Linked DNA regions of Homo sapiens: region 1 is linked to region 2. The links are contacts of gene promoters, found by promoter capture Hi-C in human tissues and cell types (Jung and others, 2019). All regions are on one chromosome and are shown on one strand. Each heading gives the region's core, a stretch centred on a gene start or on the middle of the fragment in contact. The rest is flanking DNA. Distances are from core to core; before and after follow the strand shown.

What was found. The method cuts DNA at HindIII sites, captures the fragments that hold promoters and counts their contacts. A contact is called where the count stands out against the background at its distance.
Region 1: a contact is called between a fragment that was not itself captured here and the fragment with the promoter of SPAST in region 2, in 1 of the 25 tissues and cell types used here (adrenal gland).

Annotation. Positions count from the first base shown.
Region 1 is chr2:31,849,920-31,855,905 of GRCh38, forward strand. No RefSeq gene overlaps it. Among named protein-coding and RNA genes, the nearest start is that of LINC01946, 49 kb to the left of the region's middle. The HindIII fragment of the contact is 3,972 bases long and covers 792-4,763 here.
Region 2 is chr2:32,062,078-32,068,075 of GRCh38, forward strand. SPAST (spastin) reads left to right here and starts at 1,479. Exons shown (of 17, transcript NM_014946.4): 1 at 1,479-2,169. The coding sequence starts at 1,755. RefSeq lists enhancers at 1,273-1,342, 1,391-2,191 and silencers at 1,563-1,702, 1,763-2,182, 2,213-2,342. The HindIII fragment of the contact is 21,143 bases long and covers 1-5,998 here.

The sequences.
Region 1 (5,986 bases), core at 1,528-4,027, 210 kb before region 2:
GTGACTATAGATTTGTCTAATTCTCTTTTCCATTCTATCAGATTTTAATTTATGTGTTTTGAAGCTCTTTTATTAGGTATGTAAGAGTTAAAATTCTTATTTCCTCATGATGAGTTAATGAGATTGCCAACATGAAATGTCCTCCATTATTCCTGGTAATATTTGTTGATCTTGAATTATATTTCATGGAACTAATATAGCCCCCTCCAGCATTCTTTGGATTAATGTTGGCATATAATTAGGTATTCCTTTTTTATCCAATCTGATAATATCTACCTTTTGTGATGTTTAGACCATTTTCAGAAATATAAATAAGGTTGGATTAAAATCTTACCTGCTTCATAGTTGATCTCATGAACTTTGTTCTTTCCTTTTCTTACTATTTTTGGAGTCATTAAGTTCTGTCTTTTTAAAATTATTCCTGGCCGGGCGTGGTGGCTCACGCCTGTAATCCCAGCACTTTGAGAGGCCGAGGGGGGCAGATCACGAGGTCAGCCTGACCAACATGGTGAAACCCCATCTCTACTAAAAATACAAAAAAATTAGCCTGGCGTGGTGGCACACGCCTGTAATCCCAGCTACTTGGGAGGCTGAGGCAGGAGAATCGCTTGAACCTGGGAGGCAGAGGTTGCAGTGAACCGAGATCGTGCCATTGCACTCCAGCCTGGGCAACAAGAGTGAAACTCTGTCTCAAAAAAAAAAAACACAATGATAATAATAATATACAGTAAATCTTCAAATAAGATTATGCTACTTCACTACTTCACATATGGCATTAAGAACATTGCAGGCCAGGCGCAGTGGCTCACGCCTGTAATCCCAACACTTTCGGAGGCTGAGGTAGGCGGATCATGAGATCAAGAGATCAAGACCATCCTGGCCAACATGGTGAAACCCTGTCTCTATTAAAAACACAAAAATTAGCTGGGCATGGTGGCGTGCGCCTGCAGGGTTTCTTTTCCCAGAGAGCAGTAAATTATGGCAAGAAGCCCCATGCCCAGCATGGTGCCAGAGAGATGGACTAAAGGGTCCAGAGACAAAAGCTCACTCAGCTCAGCATAGTTAGGCAGCAAATAAGTTGATTTAGAATTGGCAGTTACTCCAAGTTCCAATTAGGGGTAAGATGGAACACATCAGTGGATACAAAAAGCAATACAAATTCAGCAGATGGAAAGGCAAACATATGAGCAGGTATTTATAGAGAAAATGTCATATCCAAGATCCAGCAGGGGCAAACAAGGACCAGACATACTTCTAACACTTGGCTGTTATGTCAATACTTTTGTATACAGTTATCATGTAGAAAGAAAGAATGAATGGGACAGTCTCTGAGTTGACTGAGAACACTTTCTTGAGTTGACTGAGAAAACTTTGAATTGGCTATTTTTTCTAAAATAAGCTGACATCAGGAAAGAAAACCCAGATAAAAACTGAGTTTAGAAACTGCAATAACAAAACTGTATACATGGTGGAATTCTACTTTAAAAAGATAGAAACACACACATCGTATGCTCAAAAAGTATTAGACCTACTGTACCAGAAAGATTAAAGAATAAAAATTTGCAGTGATAATCTTTGGAGAATGAGACTATAAGTGACTTTTTTTCTATCCATTTAAAATAAAAATGTTATATTTGATTTCTTCCTGGAAGTTTTTTATTTTTATTTTAATGTATTTATGGGTTAGAATATGGCCAAGGTGTGGATAAAAGAAACTTCTAAGCTTACAGTATCAGCTAGCATTTGCCTGGTTGGTGGGGAAAGAAACAGTTTATTCTTAGTCTCAAAACCTTCCTCCCTCCGCCGGCCCCGAGACGGAATCTCACTCTGTCGCCCAAGATGGAGTGGTGTGACCTCGGCTCACTGCAACCTCAGCTTCCCAGGTTCAAGTAATTCTCCTCTTCAGCCTCCAGAGTAGCTGGGGTTACAGGCGCACGGCACCATGCCCAGCTCATTTTTGTATTTGTAGTACAGACAGGCTTTCGCCATGTTGGCCAGGCTGGTCTGGCCTCAAGTGATCCGCCTGCCTCCACCTCCCAAAGTGCTGGAATTACAGGCATGAGCCATGTGCCCAGCTAATGCCTCAAAACTTTTTAAATTTCTTTTTTCTCTTTATTTGACTTTTTGTGTGACTCTAGCCAAAGATAATGTCTCAAAACACTTGCTAAAGTGAATGCCTTGAATTAAATGGCCAAATGTTTACGTTCTCAGGAAGGAAAGGAGTATGGAGGCATTTGCAGGGGTCACCATTTCAAAGTATCCAGTACCAGACCACACTAAACCCGGCTAAAAGCATCAAGAGTAAGTCTTGTTTTATGCTCAGTCCATGTTCAGGGAAAAAACACAGTTATTATTGATTCTACTAAATGTTGAATGCAAGACCAGCAACTATAGGAAGTATAAAAGCATTAAGCTTCTGTGTTGAGGAAATTTATAATCTAATAGAGAAAATAACAGAGTACTAAAACTGCATGGGAAACAGGCTACAGAAATTCAGAGGAATATCAATTAAAGGAGGGTAGAGAAAGCAACAGAAAGGGTTGACAAATGATGTTTCAGGAATAATTTACTGCTCTCTGACACATATGGAAAGGCGAGGCATATGGAAAATGGGAGAGAAAAAGTGGTATCTTCCTAGACAGCAAAATGAGGAAATATTGAGCAGGAAATTTACCAGATTCACAAATTCCAAAAAGTTCAGGGAACAACTGAAATGACTGAAATGAACGTTGGTTTTGGAGCAAGTTAGGCTGGACTCAAATCCCAACTCTGCCTCCCTAATAGGTAAATGCCCTTGAATAAGCTTACTCCCCGCTGAAATGTTTCTCCCAGTTTGTGACTTGTCTTCTCATTCTTGTCATTGTCTCTTGACATTGAGCATTAGTTGTAAAAATGAAGCCTAATGTCTTTCCCTTTTTTTAATGGATCAGCCTAGCTGGCTGCTGAGCAGAAGCTCCCCTCAGTTCCTTGCTGTGTGGACTTTCCCAACATGGTAATTTGCTTCATCAAAGCCAGCAAGGGAGAGAGTCTGCTAGCAAGAAGTGACATACCCACAATGATGATTAGAAGAAATTTACTCAAGGGGAAGGCATTACAAAACGTCATAAACATCAAGAGGCACAGGAGTCATCAGGGGTCATCTTAGAGCATATTCTTTACACATCTTAAACAGACTAAGGTTTATTTCGGGGGGCTGAGGGAACCTAGACCATCCAAGTTTTTGGCTATGAGTGTCTCCACAAGTATAGAAACTATTCTTGGTCAGAAATGTTTTCTAAGCCATGAAAACATCTATCTAAAAATGGGATTATTGTAAGAATTAAATAACATAAAGTATAAGATTGAATCACACTAAGTTGCAGTTTGTATAAGTAAACAACAGTTAAATATCAGCAATTTCATACGGTTCTTAAAGAACATACAGTTTGTCATGTGGCAGGTACTCAATATTTGCTGAACTACACTATCTTATTCCATGAAGAAAATGAACTTCACTTAAAAAGAAAAATCTTACCAGAGGGCACCATGTTTTCTATATAGCTCTTAAAGATCTAAATTTATATACTGGTTCAGCCACTTATCGGTGAAGTGGCATCAAATCAGTTACTTAAACTTTCTAAAGTGTGTAAAGTGAGGATACTTACCTATTCTTTTTATGATTATTTTCAGGACTAAAACACTCTCCCAGAGTAGGTTATCAGATTGTAACTAGTATTAAGATTTGTAAGAAGTATGTGACATAAACCAATTAGAATAAAATCAAGAACATGAAACCAATTCCAAACTAAAACCTGAGGAAAATGCTGAGGTTGACAAAGTAGGTTCTCAAAACATTTAAGCACAGTTGTACCAAATTTTCATAGTGGTCCTAAGGGATTCTAGTAGTTACCCAAAAAAAAAAATTTTTAATTTTGCATTTTCAAAAGCTGTAGTTTTATATCACATCAGTTTTCACTGAACTGTCTAGGACTTTCACATATATAATCTCTAAGTATTTGTATAATTTGTATTGTATGTTACATGGCCTAAGCATCAACCATGAAGTTGACCACTCTGTTTATACATTTGAACTTAAGGTAATGATTCTAAAACTTTTATTCTGGGACATATTCTCTCTCGCTTTCCTCCCACACCCACAACATATACCACACAAAAGGGCTTGTGGTGTTACCTTTAATAATATATTCTACAATCCTACCTTGAGCTAAAAAAAATTTGTAAAGATCACATAATCTCTGAAGAGTTTCCTGGGGAAGAATTTAGCTAAACAATTCCGGATGAACGGTCATCTCCCCTTTTCTTCACCAAAATTTCCCATGACTGTGTGATGTTATGTTCCTAAAGTTGCATAAGTTTTTTCCAAGGTCCAGACTCATTAATGTCTGTTTAAAACTATCTAATCTCCATCATCTATCTTTATCTCTATCTATCTATCTATCTATCTATCTATCTATCTATCTATCTATCTATCTATCTATCTATGTTTTCGTAGAGATGGGGTCTTTGTTTTCCAGACTGGTCTCGAACTCCTGGCCTCAATCAATCCTCCCACCTCAGCCTCCTAAACTGTGGGTATTACAGGTGTAAGCCACCGCACTCAGCCTAAAACTATTGACTAAAACAGAAAACAGCTCTTCACCATCACATAGAGCATGTTCCTTCTCAAATATAAAGATACAGTCAACTCTTTTAGATTCAACGTTTTTTACTTAACTTTTCCTCCAAATCCAATTTCCTCAAATTGATGTTCATGTCTGTCACTTACCTTGAACTTTTTCTCCTCTTTATGTTGGGGTCCAAAATCAAGAACAATACTCTAGAAAGACTTACAATGATGAGTACAATGTGTGAGAATGCGGGAAAACACTGTTAGGATAAGCAATTCCCCTCCCCTCACATACTGTATGTATAATGCCGGATTATTACCCTCAGCAAGTACATGTTAGTAAGCAGAGTTTCTATTTCCAAGAGTTATTTATCATGAGAACTCATTGGTTTTCATGAATGAAAGTACATCATAGATAGAGATGACCAACCAATCATTAGTTTTTCAATAGTTTAGCAAATGCTGTTGGTCAACCATTCTACAGACATAATTCATCCAAAAATAGTATTTAAAAAACAATGACTTTTTTCTTAAAAAGAGGGAAAAGACATTGGTTGAAAATAACAACAAAATGGAAGAAGCTGCAACCTTTCTGTTGACATCTGATTAAATAAACTCAGATTGAAGATTTTTTTTTTAAGGCCTGAATAATTTGCCCTACTATACACAAAGGAACCTCATTCAAGAAGAAACTAAAAAAAAACTTTTTTATTAACAATTTGTTGGTGGCAAAGAAAACAATGTCTTTACATACATGTTTACAAAATATTTCCATAAAATAATTGTTTTCCTTTCCTTTTAAAGATTTGTTTTCACTTGGCAAAAAATTAAAACATTATTTACCACAAGCAATGAAACCCAGCACTTTTATATAAATGGTTTTATCTTCCCTTCACCCTTTTCCTTAAATTCAATACTCTTACAGGCTACCTAAATTGATAATGACATTTAGAAGGATGAACATGTAGTATGATTAATGGTAGAACTGTTGTGTTAGGCAATAATGCTAAAGTTATAAGTGCTACTTGAGAATATGAAGGATTTGGAGGATTTTTTAGGGGGTAGGAACATAAAGCATTCTAGAATATCACTACCAGGGGATAAAATGCCCAACACCATCCCTGCACTCAAACATGGGACTGCTAGGTCAGAGTATTCAATCAATTAAGCTATAGTCTCCATTTTTAAGTCATGGCAAAGGATACTAGAGAATGAAGAGATTACTTGCTATCAGAAGCTACAGACTAAGAGCTAGCTTAAAAAGAGAAAACCCAAGTTCCTTTCAGGTAAGAAACGATTTGTCAAGACTATAAAAGCAGGCCTTTGTTATTGTTTCTAATACACAGAAGGGAAAATGCAAGAGAGAAAAGGAGGATGGAA
Region 2 (5,998 bases), core at 229-2,728:
CCCAGTGGCGTGTGCCTGTGATCCCAGCTACTCGGGAGGCTGAGGTGGAAGGATCACCTGAGCCAGGGAGGTGGAGGTTGCAGTGAGTCATGTTGTTTGCGCCACTGCACTCCAGCCTGGGCAATGGAGTGAAACCCTGTCCAAAAAATAAAAAAATAAAGCTGTGGCAGAATGTGGAGATTCTTGGAAGCTGGAAGCTCTCATGGGGCATTTGGAAACCTCACATTGTAAATAACGGAGTCTTTTTATCAGTTTGGCTTCCTTAGTTTTAGGAAACAAGAAATAATTATGGCTAACTCAAGTAAAAAGAGAAAGAGAAGAGAAAAAAGACGTGGAGATAGAGAGAGAGGGAGAGAGAGGAAAAGACGAAAGGAAGGAAGGGGGAAAGGAGAGAGGAAGAGAGAAACAGAGAAACAGACTGATTAGTGTATTGGATAGATTACATAACCAAGTGACCAGTCAGGAACCCAGCAGCTCTGGGGGAGCTCAATGTGATGCATTGATAAACCCGCTCTTAAGAGCACTCGTTTCCAGTTACTTTCTATTCGGTGGGTCTCCAGCCAAGATTCCAGGTCCCAGGAGAATCTGACTGACCTAGTGTTTGCTTCCGCCTTTGCGGTCTGGGTTCTGTGCTTGCAGCTCATTAGAATACAGGGAGCAGAGACAAGCAGGTAGTTTCCCAAAGGAAGGGATGCTGAGTAGATTAAAAAAAAAGTGTAGATTCTTCAGTAAACTATGGGATGGTAACTATGCAAAACCTAAGATTTCCCTTATTCAAATAAATTATCTTTCATATTAGACATCTAAATATGCACTAATTTAGTTAAACCCCTGGGTTAGTTGATCTCATCACACTGAGCTAACATTTTTGTTGCTGTTGTTTGCAGTGACCTGAAGTTTCTTATCTTCACAATTGCTTTCCTCTCAAATAATTCCCAGATTTTAAATTTTTATTTTATTTTTTCTGGAGACGGAGTCTCGCTCTGTCGCCCAGGCTGGAGTGCAGTGGCGCGATCTCAGCTCACTTGCAGCCTCTGCCTCCCGAGTTCAAGCGATTCTCCGGCCTTAGCCTTCCAACCAGCTGGGACTACAGGCGCGCGCCCCCACGCCCGGCTAATTTAATTCCCAGATTGATATCCATTGCTTCTGAGATGGGCCAATTATCCTTCGGAGAAGACTTAGGTCGCCTGGCAGAAAAAGATGAAAGAAATCTAAGAAAACGACGACACTGAGAGAGGAGCCTAGCGAACCAGCAGAGCGACCCCAAGCCGCAATTCCCCCTTCCGTGGATCGATTACGAAGGCTTCCTGGCAGGAGCTCTCCAGGGCTGCCGACGTGAGCCGAACTGCACATTGGGAACTGTAGTTGAGTGGGAAAGCCGAGAGGCGGGGGCCGCACACGCGTACAGGGGCCCCGGTCAACAAAGACGCGCCGTGCGCGCGCGCGCCGGAGAAAAACACGGGAAGACGTGCGCGTGCGCGGCCGCCGCTGGGAGCCACCAGGCGGCGGAGAGGACAGCGACAGGAAGGGAGGGGCCCGAGCCACCGACTGCAGGAGGAGAAGGGGTTGTGCTCCTGGCCGAGGAAGGAGAAAGGGGCGGGGCCGGCGGGCAGCGTGCGGCAGTGCGGAGCTCCTGAGACCGGCGGGCACACGGGGGTCTGTGGCCCCCGCCGTAGCAGTGGCTGCCGCCGTCGCTTGGTTCCCGTCGGTCTGCGGGAGGCGGGTTATGGCGGCGGCGGCAGTGAGAGCTGTGAATGAATTCTCCGGGTGGACGAGGGAAGAAGAAAGGCTCCGGCGGCGCCAGCAACCCGGTGCCTCCCAGGCCTCCGCCCCCTTGCCTGGCCCCCGCCCCTCCCGCCGCCGGGCCGGCCCCTCCGCCCGAGTCGCCGCATAAGCGGAACCTGTACTATTTCTCCTACCCGCTGTTTGTAGGCTTCGCGCTGCTGCGTTTGGTCGCCTTCCACCTGGGGCTCCTCTTCGTGTGGCTCTGCCAGCGCTTCTCCCGCGCCCTCATGGCAGCCAAGAGGAGCTCCGGGGCCGCGCCAGCACCTGCCTCGGCCTCGGCCCCGGCGCCGGTGCCGGGCGGCGAGGCCGAGCGCGTCCGAGTCTTCCACAAACAGGCCTTCGAGTACATCTCCATTGCCCTGCGCATCGATGAGGATGAGAAAGGTAACTAGGGGGCTGGGGGAGGGGGCGGCGGCGCCGGGAAGAAGGCGGTGGGGTCGCCGGGGGAGGGCAACACCTGCGTCCCTTTTCTGCGGGAGGGGACGGTGCACCCCCGGAATTGATATGCCCCGGGAGACTGCTTTCCCGTAGGTCGGAGCCTCATCTTCTAGTATTCTTAAAACCTCTCCCCTTTCAGGGCACTGTAGCTGTCGACTTTGTTTCAGACACCAGCCTTCCCCCACACTTCTGCATGACCCAGGTCACTATGAGACACCCAGACGTGTTGATGACAGTGACATTTGTCCTAGAGTGACCACACTGATCCTTTCTAGCACTGTGAAGAGTGTGCAGCTTCCTCTGAACCAAGGTTTCCAAAAGGTTTTGATATTGAAGAAGCAGTGCCGCCTTACTGGCTTTTAATGAAAGCAGAGTATTGTAGTGTCAGAAAAAAAGAACAAATGGTGACAATTTTGAAAGAAATAGCTGCATATGACTGCAGTTGAATTTGCATCATTTTAATCAAGATAATCATTTTATCAGTACAACGATTCCTGAATACTTTTTCAATGAAGTTATATTTAGCATAAAACTTTTCCCCCTGTTGCTTTGATTTTAATTAAAACAGTATTCCAAAGTAGCCTTTAATTTCCAAGTTGAAATGTTTGATGAATGGATTGCGTAAACTTAAACATACCACTTTACAGTAAAACCTAAAACAACTATGTATGTTTCTGAATGAAAGCAAGGATACTACATCTTTCGGGTTTCTTTTAAGCTAACTTTTTTTTTTTTTTGAGACGGAATCTCGCCCTGTCGCCCAAGCTGGAGTGCAATGGTGCAGTCTCGGCTCACTGCAACCTCCGACTCCCTGGTTCCAGCGATTCTCCTGCCTCAGCCTCCCGAGTAGCTGGGATTACAGGCACGCACCACCACGCCTGGCTAATTTTTGTATTTTTAGTAGAGTAGGGATTTCACCATGTTGGCCAGGATGGTCTCCATCTCCTGACCTCGTGATCGGGTCGCCTCGGCCTCCCAAAGTGCTGGTAATACAGGCATGAGCCACCGCGCCTGGCCTTAAGCTAACATTTTTTATTATATGTGCCAGGCATTGTGCTATTAGCTTTGCATGTGTTATCTTTTTTCTTTTTAAAAAAAATAGCAACCATCCCAGACCATGAAAAGTGTTATTTAATCCTCACAATAACTTTGTGAGATGAAGGTATTATTGGTATCAGCATTTTAGAGATGAAGAAAATGAGGCCCAAAAGATAAAGGAGGTTATTCCAAACCTGTGCTAATAATGAAATTTCTTTTATGGAAAATAAGTGAAATTAGGAGAAGTCTAACTTTTACAATTCTCCCCTTTTATCCTTACTTCCAGTATGCTGAGATCTTGCTTCTCCCTCTGCCAAAAACACCCACTTTTCTACCACACCTCAATTAGATACTCACTTGCATTGTCCATTAGTGAAAACAGAAACAATCTGCACTTCATTCATAGTGTCTGTCTCTACTGCCAACTCCAAAAACTGTTCTAGAATTTCAATCTTGTTGAAACCTGTTTCCTTTGTGGGGCCTGGGAGTGGGAAGTGGGATATAAGGAAAGAGGCAGTTATTCATTGTTTTGGACAGTAAGGAAAGAGTGACGGTTAAGAGAGGTCAAGGAGGGTGTTAACATTTAAGAATACTATGTGTTTGTAGAAGGAAATTTTTTGTTAACTGCTCCATTCTTTTTTTTTTTTTTTTTTGAGATGGAGTCTCCCTGTGTCACCCAGACTGGAGTGCAGTGGCGTGATCTCAGCTTACTGCAACCTCTGCCTCCCAGACGCAGGCGATTCTCTTGCCTCAGTCTCCCGAGTAGCTGGAACCACAGGTGCGCCCTATCACGGCTGGCTAATTTTTTGTATTTTTAGTAGAGATGGTGTTTCACCATGTTGGCCAGACTGGTCACGAACTCCTGACCTCAGGTGATTCGCCTGCCTCGACCTTCCAAGTGCTTGGATTACAGGTGTCAGCCACTGTGCCCACCCAGCAAGCTCCATTCTTTATCACCTCTTAAGAACATCCAGGATCCCTTGGGGAGAATTAAAACGGTTGCAAAGTTTTAGAATAGAGGAACATGTTTAAGCGTAGATCATTTTTTGGGCCAGTCATGGTGGCTCACGCGTGTAATCCCAACACTTTGGGAGGCCGGGGCGGGTGGATCATGAGGTCAAGAGTTTGAGACCATCCTGGCCAACATGGTGAAATCCCATCTCTACTAAAAATACAAAAATTAGCTGGGCATGGTGACACATGCCTGTAGTCCCAGCTACTCAGGAGGCTGAGGCAAGAGAAGTGCTTGAACCTGGAAGGTGGAGGTTGCAGTGAGCCGAGATCGTGCCACTACACTCCAGCCTGGGCGGCAGAGCAAGACTCCGTCTTGAAAAAAAAAAGTAGGTCATTTTTGGCTGGGCACGGTGGCTCATGCCTGTAATTCCAGCACTTTGGGAGGCTGAGGTGGGTGGATTGCTTGAGCCCAGGAGTTTGAGACCAGCCTGGGCAACATAGTGAAACCCTGTCTTTGTGAAAAATACAAAGATTAGCTAGGCGCAGTGGCAAATGCCTGTAGTCCCAGCTACTTGGGGGGCTGAGGTAGGAGGATCACTTGAGCTCAGGTTGTTCAGGCTGCAATGAGCTGAGATCGTGCAACTGCACTCCGAACTGGGTGACAGGAGTAAAACTGTCTCAAAAAAAAAAAAAAAAAAAACCAAAAAAAAAAAAACTGTTTTAATTGTTTTATTTAGGAAGAGAAAGTCAGAACATGCAAGGAAATTTTTTTTATTTGTTTATTTTTGAGACGGAGTCTCGCTCAGTTGCCCAGGCTGGAGTGCAATGGTATGATCTTGGCTCACTGCAACCTCTGCCTCCCGGATTCAAGCGATTCTCCTGCCTCAGCCTCCTGAGCAGCTGGGATTACAGGTGTATGCCACCACGCCCAGCTAATTTTTGTGTTTTTAGTAGAGATGGGGTTCCACCATGTTGGCCAGGCTGGTTTCGAGCTCCTGACCTCAAGTGAACCGCCCTCCTTGGCCTCCCAAAGTGCTGGGATTACAGGTGTGAGCCGCGGTGACCGACCACAAGGAAATTTTAGTTAACACTGTTGGTTGATGGGAGTTGGGAGGTAGGATAAAAGGAGAAATTAAGGAAAACCTAGGCATGAAAAATAAAAGACCCTGAGCTCTTAGATTTGAAGAAATAGCAGTTCCATGTGAGGAATAAGTGGAAGAAATAGAATTCAGACCTCAGGTCTCAGGCTGGTGACTTAAATCTTTCAGTATCACATATATGAATATATCTATTATACTTAAATCCTCCTAAACATTTTTATTTTTCAGTTGGATATATTAAATATATAAAAATAATTATTTAATTTATTTTAGAGACAGTGTTTCACTCTCTTACCCAAGCTGGAGTGGAATGTGATCATAGCTCACTGCAGCCTCAAGGCTCATTCCTAGGCTTAAGTGATCCTCTTTTTTTTTTTTTTGCTAGAGATAGGATCTTGTTATGTTAGCCAGGCTGGAGAAATTTCAACAATATTTTGAACAATAAAAAAAAAATAAATTAGGTTTTATTGTAAAGTGGTATGTTTAAGTTTACGCCATTCTCCTGCGTAATGCATATTTCATACTCTTCCTACTGATAATGTTTCTGTTCACAACTTTTTCTTTATATTTTGATTTCTTTTCTCTTTTCTTTTTTTTTTTTTTTGAGACAGAGCCTCGCTTTGTCGCCCAGGCTAGAGTGCAGTGGCGCGATCTCGGCTCACTGCTAGCTCCGCCTCCCGGGT